2 separate regions of the Homo sapiens genome follow, and region 1 is linked to region 2. The links are contacts of gene promoters, found by promoter capture Hi-C in human tissues and cell types (Jung and others, 2019). All regions are on one chromosome and are shown on one strand. Each heading gives the region's core, a stretch centred on a gene start or on the middle of the fragment in contact. The rest is flanking DNA. Distances are from core to core; before and after follow the strand shown.

Evidence for each region. The method cuts DNA at HindIII sites, captures the fragments that hold promoters and counts their contacts. A contact is called where the count stands out against the background at its distance.
Region 1: a fragment that was not itself captured here is called in contact with the fragment with the promoter of MPP4 in region 2 in 2 of the 25 tissues and cell types used here (mesenchymal stem cells and psoas muscle).

Annotation. Positions count from the first base shown.
Region 1 is chr2:201,767,405-201,772,632 of GRCh38, reverse strand. ALS2 (alsin Rho guanine nucleotide exchange factor ALS2) reads left to right here. Exons shown (of 34, transcript NM_020919.4): 2 at 3,688-3,767. The coding sequence starts at 3,748. Among named protein-coding and RNA genes, the nearest start is that of ALS2, 11 kb to the left of the region's middle. The HindIII fragment of the contact is 3,871 bases long and covers 1-3,725 here.
Region 2 is chr2:201,694,474-201,699,985 of GRCh38, reverse strand. MPP4 (MAGUK p55 scaffold protein 4) reads left to right here and starts at 1,342. Exons shown (of 22, transcript NM_033066.3): 1 at 1,342-1,399. RefSeq lists enhancers at 1-210, 211-712. The HindIII fragment of the contact is 2,902 bases long and covers 1-1,684 here.

The DNA.
Region 1 (5,228 bases), core at 541-3,040, 72 kb before region 2:
GATTTATGTTTTGTTCTTTAGAGTAAGATGCATAAACTATATATTATATAACACTTCCTGTGGGATCTGTGGTGCTGCCCTATTCATACTGATATTTCTACAACACGATGTATGAATATTCACACTAAAGGGATAAAAGTGATAAATAACCTCATATCAGTTCAGGTCAGATTTTGCTGTCAGATGAGTTCAGGTCAGATTAGATTTTGCCACCAAAAGTGTTATTGAAAAAACTTTTAATTTTCAGAGCTATAGATTTCTGGTTAAGGTATTGTAGACCTGTAAGATGGTTGTAGCTCATCTTTCTAACAGTTGGGACATCTAGACTAGATTGTTGTTGTTGTTGTTGTTGTTAAGGGCACTTCCAGATCATGGTATTAAAATGATATCCTTGGCTCGTACAGGACAACTTATTTCTCTGTTAGATGTAACAGAAGGATGTGTATCCAGTGGAGTCTAAAAGTGGCATCAGTTTATTAAGAAGCAAGGTTTGCTCTTTGTTTAAAGGGCCCCCTGGGGTTTTGTTACTTTACATATCACTGTGAAGGAGATAATAATTTGAAGGATAGAGTGGTATGCTTTAAAGTGAATCTAGCTGTGTCCTGCGGTTCAGAAGACTGAAGTCTGGTTTGCTCATTTTACGGAGATGCCATTTATCTGTGGAGAGGCCATGCAAGGTAAGAGAGGGTCCCACAGTAAATGCTGTTTATGCAACATCACATGGCTTCTTTATCAGAGCTGGTTAACAGGTCTATGCAGGAAAGTTACTGTAACAGAAGAAAAGCAGCAGAGTACAAGGATCTTGCCCTCTTAAGGAATGATAAAGACCTTAAAGCTTCTCTGGAAGAAATATCCCCAGAGGAAGTTTTATGATTAGGCAATTTTATAAAAACTTAAAATGTTAAAGCAATGAAATAACATACAGAAATTTGAATGCTATTTGACTGGTTGAGGTGAGTCTTAATAGATTTCCTGGAGAGACAATCATAAAAATATTAGAAAGACAAAAGTTTTTCATTTACTTTCTTTTCCTGGATGGATACGTAATTGAGAAAGAATGTTAGATTAAATAGAGTTGGTAAATACCACCCTTACTTAAGTATATGAGGATAAAACTTTAATAACATAAGATCCCCACATTTAGTTGCAATATTCCTTTTTAGTTATGTTTCCTCAGCAATCAGTTTTCTTCATTGCCCTATTGGAGTTTCAGGCAGACGTATCTTGTTGGAAGATGTCAAACATATTAAACACCATTAAAACAAAATGAGATAGGGGCCGGGCGCGGTGGCTCAAGGTGGCTCATACCTGTAATCCCAGCACTTTGGGAGGCCGAGGCAGGTGGATCACCTGAGGTCAGGAGTTCGAGACCAGCCTGGCCAACATGGTGAAACCCCGTCTCTACTAAAAATACAAAAATTAGCTAGGCGTAATGGCGGGTGCCTGTAATCCCAGCTACTCGGGAGGCTGAGGCAGGAGAATTGCTTGAACCTGGGAGGCGGAGGTTGCAATGAACCGAGAGCGTGCCATTGCACTCCAGCCTGGGTGACAAGAGCAAAACTCCGTCTCAAAAAAAAAAAAAAAAAAAAATCTGTAAATACTGATGTAAAAAGATGTCTGTGAAATAATATATTAGTTTTCTACTGCAGCTGCAACAAATTGTTATGAACTTAGTGGCTTAAAATAACACAAATAAATATATTATCTTCAAGTTCTGTGGGCTGAAAGTCTGTCACAGGTCTTGTAGACTAAAGTCAAGGTGTCGGCATGGCTGCTTTTTTCTGGACGCTCTAGGAAAGAATTCTTTTCCTTGCCTTTTCAGCTGCTACCTGTCACCTGCATTCCTTGGCTCATGGCTGCCTTCTTCCATGTTCAGTCAGCAGTGTAGCGTCATCTCTGACCCTGCCTCCATCATCATGTCTCTTTGATTCTCCTCCTGCCTCCCTCTTCCACTTTTAAGGATGTTTATGATTACATTGGGTGCACCTGGATAACCAGGATAATCTTTCTATCTTAAGGAGAGTTGGTTAGTATCACACAACCTAACATAGTCACAAGTTCTGGGCATTAGGACCTTGATGCCTTTGGAGACCGTTATTTGGCCTGCCCTATAGTAAGTAAGAAAAGAAAGTTGTAAAAACAGTTTGTAGAGTTTTAATTCCATTTAGGTTAAAAAAAAAAATGAGTGGTGGTGATAAATAATATTGAGTAAGGTGTAACCAACTTTAAGAAAACTGTGCTCAAAAATCTGGCACTAAGAGAGAATAAAGGTTGACTTTATTCATTTTATCAAAAGATTCTCAACATTTTTGATTGTTAGTAGGACAAAATTCCGTTTACATATAGTGTGTCAGTTGTGTGAAGTAAGGTGTGCTTGTGTGCTTCCACATCCTCGTAGAATAATTCTCTGGCTTCCGCTACCTATTGTTGAAATTTAATCAAGGGCGTAGTAACTCCATGATCTCTGATAGATAAGCACAGATTAGATCTGGTGGCAGAATTTCTCTGTACACCATGAACTGTGCATTTTACAAAAGGCTAATTACTATCATGGACAAAGCATAGTAGCACTTAATTGTATTTATTAAATGAATATCATTTATTAAATTTATTCAGATATATCTCTTGTTAACATAGTACCCATTTTCCAACTTTGAATGATTCATAATCTTTCTAAAATAAGCATTAGGTGGAAAGTAATTTTCTTCAGATGTACAGATGGGAAATGGTAAGAATTCACAGGCAACCTGGAGGAAACAGATGGACCCCAGATCACTCCTGCCAGTATGAGCTGTTTCCAGAACACAGTGACCATTCCATATCCTTTTGCAGAAAAACCACAAATTTGGCCCCAATATTTTTATGGTTTACACAAATAAGACCTAACTGCTTTTGTTTTCTTGTGTTTTGGTACCCTTACAAATGTGGATTTCTGAGTTGAAATGCACTCAGCATTTCTGTTTATTTTTCTATCTCTTATTTTATTAAATACTGAGTTTCTAAACTGATGGGCCATGATATTTGTAACTATAATTTTCATACAGCTATTTTCTATTAAAGGTGGATTTTAAAACAGCTGATTTAAAATTCAGACTTCTTTCTTTCAACCGTTTGGGTTATGAGGCATGTTGGTCTGAATCGAAGGTGATTTGGGGAAAATGTTCCTTCTTCCAATAAGTGGAAAACTTCCTATTTTAATGACATAATTTTTGTGCATTACTGAAAAGTATAAATTAAAACTACTTGAATCAGATACATTACTGAAGAGATTTTAGAAAATCTGAGTTAATTGGTATTTAAGTCTTCATGCATTCCAGACAGAGCGTTTAAAAAGTACCCTTAATGTGTGTGTACTTTTTGTACTTAACACATTGATTTTTCAGATTGAACTTTTTTCTTTATAATAAAAAACAAAATCTATTGCCTGGAAGAGTACAGCTTAATTGTGGGTAGTCTTTTCTTCCTTTGACATTACATTTGACAGTCAATGGGCATTTTTATAAGCTTAGTGGGCAGGCTCAGCCTATGTTTGACTTTGGCAGGCAAGATATGAAATAGTTTAAATAGTTTTACTGCATATTTATTTCCTAGTGAATGTGCACTTGTTAGAGGGCTGCTTTTTTTTTTTTTAATGTCTGAGGGGTAAAATATTCTTTTACTGCTCTTTTCCTTACTTGTACTGTTTAGGTCTTGATAGACTTTCTGTAAAGAAGGAATGATTTGGTGATGGAGTGTTCCCACTGACCGATGGACTCAAAGAAGAGAAGGTAAAATCATTTCTTCCTTTTCTCTTATCCTCCTAGGAAAACATAGCAAACAGCTTCACATATGTGTAGCTTCTCTTCAGTTTAATTTTCTTGTTGATGGTTGTTAAGTGGGAATAGTGACATTTGTAGTTAGTTCGTTGGTAAAGATAAAATTTTAAAAAGGCTTGTTAGTTGTAAGCTTTGTAAGAAGCACTAAATGTCTTCATTTCATCATTTTAAAGTGCTTGTAGCCATTTTTCCCTCACAAATAATTTCAGGTTTTCAGAAGTAGCCTTGCTAATCTTAATCATCTTCCATCCTTAAAGAACTAGTTATGGAAGATATTTAAAAGGAAGGTTAAATGTATACTGTTCCTCCTATAGAACCATGGTTATGTCCAGTTATAATTTAAGGGAATATTATTTAGCAAATATAGATAAATGCTTAGCTATTCAAAAGAGTTTCTGTGCCTCATTAAAATTTTGGCATCAGCGTTCTAGAAAAAAGAAAATGAAAAAATGTATTACCAATGGTGGCACATATCTTAATGTGCCCTTTTCTTAGAAGAAGGCAGTTAGGATATGGTCATTACTGTGCAGCTATGTGTTTTGTATTCTTTAAACCGAAATCATCAGATGTGTAGAATTCTTTAGCTAGAACTTGAGCAAAGCATTAAGGATTTTACTGATATCTATTATAAACTTGATTCCTAAAAATTTAAATAGCAGTTCTACACTTAAACTCAACATAAAGTGAAATATGAATTCCTGTTTCTCATATTGTTCTCATCAAGTACTTTTTACTTACTATAAAATTTTATGATAAGACTTCAACTTGGGCATGTTGTAGCTTTGATATCTCAACAAGGAGTGAATATATTGAGAAGTTAGAATCTTGGAATTTTATGCTACCAAATGCTAAAACTTCTAAAAATAGCCCAAGTTTTGTTTGCTTCTTAGATGGAGAAAAGTAATTTGTGGGTTTAGAGTGTCCTTCAGTCTTTTTTTTTTTTTTTTTTTTAGACAGAGTCTTGCTCTGTCGCCCAGGCTGGAGTGCAGTGGCAAGATCTTGGCTCACTGCAACCTCCGCCTCCCGGGTTCAAGCGCTTCTCCTGCCTCAGCCTCCTGAGTAGCTGGGACTACAGGTTCACGCCACCATGCCCGGCTGATTTTTTTTTTTTTGTATTTTTAGTAGAAACAGGGTTTCACCGTATTAGCCAGGCTGGTCTCGAGCTCCTACCTTGTGATCTGCCTGCCTCGGCCTCCCAAAGGGCTGGGATTACAGGTGTGAGCCACCACGCCCCACATCCTTCAGTCTTTTATATAAATAGTTGTTTTACCTTGGCTTCTGTGAGCATAACCAAAGCATAAAATAGGTGCTAATTCAGCTATCTGACCTAGTCATCCATGTGCTGGTAAAAGGTACAATCATGAAAAGTATTAAGAACAAAGGATACTGTTCTGAATTGTAGAAACAATTAAG
Region 2 (5,512 bases), core at 93-2,592:
AAATTTACAGAATTTCTGACTCTGGGCGGGGGTGGATAATATGTGGAAATGGACAAACAAAAACTTTGAGACAAATTGACCCATTGAGAAGATTTCCAATGATGATAGGCTGTCTCTGTTCTAAGAAAAGCCATGTTACAATTCGTCCTTTTACTGGAGTCTTGAATGAAACTGTTCAGTTACTTTGGATTCTTCCTACTATATGCTTTTCAGATAGCATATTAAAGTTATAAATTTTGAAGTGTATTGGAAGAAAAACCCTAAATCTCCAGGCCAATGTTTGTAAATAGAAGTCCTTGGCACTCCTGCAGCAGTTTACAATGGTCATTCACATGCGTAATGAATGCTTACAGCAGCCCAAGGATGCAGGTGTTATCCCCATTTCCCCCCATTTTTCAGACAAGCAGTGACCAAGATTTGCTCACTGCCAGAGCTGGGACTCCAGCCTAGAACTTCCCTACTCCCTACTTCCCTAGAAGTCCAGTGCTTTTTGCTACTACAGCTGCCAGAGATGTCATTTCATAGCTGGTTATGTATTGAAAGTTCTTAAAAGTGAGTTAAAAATGAAAATCTTATTGAAATCAAGTGCTTTTCACAAAATATGCTGTACTCAAAACACAAATGTATCACATTCCCAACTTGTGTTTTCATCTATGATGGAGAGATAAGGAAAGCCATGTGATTAATATGGGTAGAAGGGCTGAGGACCCTCTGATAATTGCCATTTGGTCTCTACCTTTTGCCTTGCTGTCAGCAATACCTTCCTCTCCTTTCTGCAATATCCCCTTCCAAATGCTCTCCCCACTGAGCACTCCCTGCAGTATTAAGTTTTCAGATAAAGAAGTAGCTCCTATCTGAGACAGAAAGCACTATTTGTTAGGTTCAGAACAGTGGCTTGGGAGGGGATTGACCAGAAGGTACTGTTTTTGATGGGTTTCTATTATTAGCTGAACAGTCTTCAGTTGTTTTCTCACCATAACATGAGAGATTTAATAAGGTTAGTAGGTTATTGGCTTATTTCCGGTCCTGCCACATTTTTTTCTTTCATTAAAAATGCTATCTTCTGTTGTGGAATGTCTGTCATCTTGAACTAATCAACAAAAATACTATGTTTTTCTGCCGTTAACTATGTGTTGGCAATTTGAGAGAAAATACTAGAATGTAGGTTTGAAAATGATACAAATTAGACTTCAAGGAATACTTAAGAAGATTTGTGGCAGGAAAGGCTTGTGAGTAATTTAGTTGTTAGGCTGGGTTAGGCATCTGTGGATTACATCAAAGAGGATGTGCAGAGATTTTATCGGGAGCAGTGAGGTGACTTTGGCAGCTAACAGGCCACTAGTATCCTACTAAAGCTTTTGTCTGGATAGGAGCAACATGCATGTTTACAGTCTTGCAGGTAAGAGACCTTGGCAAATAATCCTCAGTTACCAGAAGATGTATCCATAACTGCCTAGCTTGCCTGTCAGTTTTTAATAGCTAAAGATATAAATCTGGGTAATCTAACTCAAATGGCTTAGTTTCATTTTAACTCAAATGATATGGGGAATTTTATGATCTTGAAAGAGCAGGTTTTGCTTCGAGAAGCCATTTCTTCAGTATGGAATAATGAGTTGTCAGGAAGATTGAGTACAATGGGCATTTGCCCTGGTCCTAATCAACAGCATTTGGACCCAGAGGAAGCCAGCTATTTTTGTAAGGGCCATTTCTCATCATTAAGTTTCCAAGTGCTTTTTTAGGGTTTGTCTAGTAAAAAGCACTATTTTGAAAAACAAGCATAGTAAGGGTAGGGGGTTGTGGCATTTAATAGTACGTTTTAAAAAGCTAATGGAAATACTTTTAAAACAAGATTTAGGACAAATTCCTTAGGCATCAGTCACACTAATGCATCTTCTGAGTCAAGAACTGGCTATCCTTTCTGTGTACTCAGTCCGGAATTGCATGTGGTGGGTGCTTACTTATTTGCAGTCTCAATCAAGAATTCTCACTCTCAAGATAGCAGAAATAGATAAGCTTCAACTGACAAATTTGGTACAGAAGTCATGGAAAGGAAGGTAAGTCTTTTGCCAGGCATCATGCCAGGCATCAGCATCTTTCAGGACTAAGGAAACAAAAGAGGAAAACTCGATTTTACTACATGTTAACTCTACTGAATACCTCCTTGAATGTCAGATTCCTTATCTGTAAAACAAAGGTTTTGCATTTGATTATCTCTAAGATCCGCTTCTGCCCCCAGTTTTAAAGTTTGATAGGGAAAGAGGTTTAAGTCAGGATACCAGGCCAGGGAGGAAAGGAAGGGAGGGCACAGGCCTCTGGAGTTCAGCTGCCTCCCCCATTAGGATTGAAGTCCCAGCTGCTGGCTACTGCCTTGAGGGAGGTATCAGCCTTTTACTTCTGGATCTTGGCCTCTCCTTGTTCTACCCCTTCCCAACAACAACTGAACATACCAAGTGCTTGCTATGGCCCAAGCACTGTTGCAGGTGAAGCTGCAGCATGAACAAGATAAGCAACATCTCTGCTCCCCAGGCCCTCTGCAGACATGACACCTGCGGGAGACAGACACTGAGCAAGCCAGTGGATACAAGAACTGGGAAAATGAGAAGTGCTATGAGGGCAAGAAGTTGCAACTGTTTTCTTAGCTACCTGGAGGGAGGGAAAATCATTTTCTGGAAGTTTTTTTCTATGAGTTTTGTCTTAGCTTTGGCTGTCATAACAAAGTACCATAGACAGTGGCTTAAACAACAGAAATGTATTTTCTCATACAGTTCTGGAGGCTGGAAGTTGAAGATTGGGATGCCAGCATGGTTGGGTTCTTGCGAGGGTTCTCTTCCTGGCTTTCAGATGGCCGCGTTTTCACTGTGCCATCATCTGGCAGGGAGAGAGAGAACACATGAACTCTGATGGCTCTTACCCAGACGCTAATGACATCTTGAGGCCTCTACCTCATGACCTTAACCCAGTTACCTCCCAAAGGCCCCATCTTCAAATGCCATCAACAATGGGGATTAGGGCTTCAACATCTGAATTGGGGGTGGGGACACAACATTCAGTCCACCATAAATTTGTCATAGGAACCTGAAGATGAGGAGCCAAGCACAGTTTTTAGAATTTGCATAAGTTGTAGATTACTGTAATTATTGTTTTTGCCTCTATGGCTGAGAAACTTTGGGTCAAAACGAGCCTTTTAGAATGTATGAATTAGTTATCTAGGTAGCCCTGAAGTTGGCTCTAGATTTATTAGAAGCTATTTTAACCATTGCATTCACTCAAGAAACCACCGCCTATCTGTGAAGCACAGTCTATCTGTAAAGCTCCCTCACAATAAATTCATCTCAGAAATATGTAGTCTCTAGTGTGTGCCCCCAACTGCTGAATGGGTAGGCCTAGCTCAGCACAGTCATTCGGGCATTAAATATGGCAGAAATGTGGTCCACCTCATGACGTGCAAACAACAGTTGGCTTGTTTAATCTGCACTGCTTTGCCAAGGACGTGTGATTTGTGAGGTGCTGGAGGGGAACCAATTTTAAGAGTCAGCCTGAGTGTCAGCCTCATCTGTCTGCTCTGACTTTTGTCTGCTCTCTAGCAGGCACTCCATCTCCCTTTTCAATTTTCTACCCTGGAAGTGCTCCCCTCCAGGGAGGAAGATGAGTCAGATATGCAGCTGTGATGCTAAATGATTCAATAGAGTCAAAAACAACACAGAACACAGGAAAACGCATTGTTTAATCTGACTCAATTACAAGTGGGCAAGGTAGGTGATGGAGGGCAAGTCAAAAGCATAACGATGTCAAGCTTTGGTAGAACCTAGCAAACCGGAAGACTTCAGGGTGTTTGGAAAGGAATGTGTAGGGGAAAGTTGTCTAAAATGCTGTAACAGCTTTCTGTGTTGCTCTTCTCACTGCCTTAGAATTTAGAGTCAAAATAATAATGATCTTTTCTTCTTTTAGATAGCCTTCCTGGCTTCAACCCACAATCAGTCTAGATTCTAGACAGTGGTTCTCAACCCTATCAGAGTCAATACTCCAGTCTTTAACAACTAATTTGAAGTGTTCCTTTTATAACAAAAACCTTAATGTATTCTTTATTGTCCTACTATAACAATGTTGTTGGTCCCTACCCCCACCGCATACCCCTTGGTTGTTACCATTTTGGTGCACTCTGAGCCCACTCCAGCTGCTAGCCCCTCCACTTCCTATCCGAAGGTATACATGTTGCATGCTGGAAGAGTCAGAAATAATGCTCTCTGGGAAGAGCTCTTAACCTGTTGGCTCTAACAGGGGCCAAGAGAGTGAGGGTATTTATATACCAAGGTTGCCATTGGTGTATAAAAACCCTCATGTTGCCATTGGTGTGTAAATACTCTCACTCCCTTGGCCCCTGTTCCCCCGTGGGATTAAGCTCTAGTTGCCTACAGTGGTTACTTCTTGATGACAACCTATTACTGGCTTTTTCACCTTCCCTGCCTCAATACCCTACTCCCCATTGTATATTAAACCAGTGCAAAAGTGTCTTGTGTTTATATGTAAAGAAAAGTTGGCGTCTGGATTCAGATAACTACAGGTTTTATTGTTTTTCAGTGACATGATAGTTCAGTGGGACATTTGAAAGCTATACAGGGCATGAGGCGATTCTTCACTGTGTAGGGCAACTTGTGGAAAACTTTGCTTAAAGAGCAGTAGGCATATTTTCTTTGCCCGTGTTTTCTTAATCCCTTCCTCCCCTACCCTGTTGGCCGAAATGTAGGCGTGATGACTGGAGCTGCAGCTGCCATCTTGGAGCAGGTAGACAGAACCATGCTACACCCTAGGGTGACAGAGCAGTAGCCGGAAGGAACCTATTCCCTGAGGACTTCGTGGAGCAAGGCTGCCCTATTAGCCCTGGATTCTCTCTGTCTCTGAACTTTCACACGAACAAGATATAAACTACTCTGCTAAGCCAAAATTATTCTGGGTTTCTACTTCTTGAAACTAAATCTACCTAAAGCAATACCAAAAATAAACATTAAAATAAGCATTTCAAACTAGTTTTCAAAGACTGGTATTAAATCTGATAGGGTTAAGAAAACTGTCTAGGCCAGGTGCGATGGCTCACACCTATTATCCCAGTGCTTAGAGAAGCCAAGGTGGGAAGATTGCCCAGAAGTTGGAGACCAGCCTGGGCAACATAGTGAGACCCCATCTCTACAAGAAGTTAAAAATTAGCCGAGTGTGGTGGCACATGCCTATGGTCCCAGATACTCAAGAGGCTGAGGTAGCAGGATGATTTGAACCTAAGAGGTCGAGGGTGCATGATCATGAGCCATGATCATGCCACCACACTTCAGCCTAAGCAACAGAGTGAGACCCTGTCTCAAAAAAAAAAAAAAAAAAAAAAAAAGGGAAAAAGAAAACTGTCCAGACTCTATACAAATTGTAGGATTGAGCCAGGAAAGCACTCTAGAAACAAAACAAAACAACAGATCGTTACAGTGTTGTCTCTAAATTCCAAGAGTGTGCCTCAGTAATAACCCAT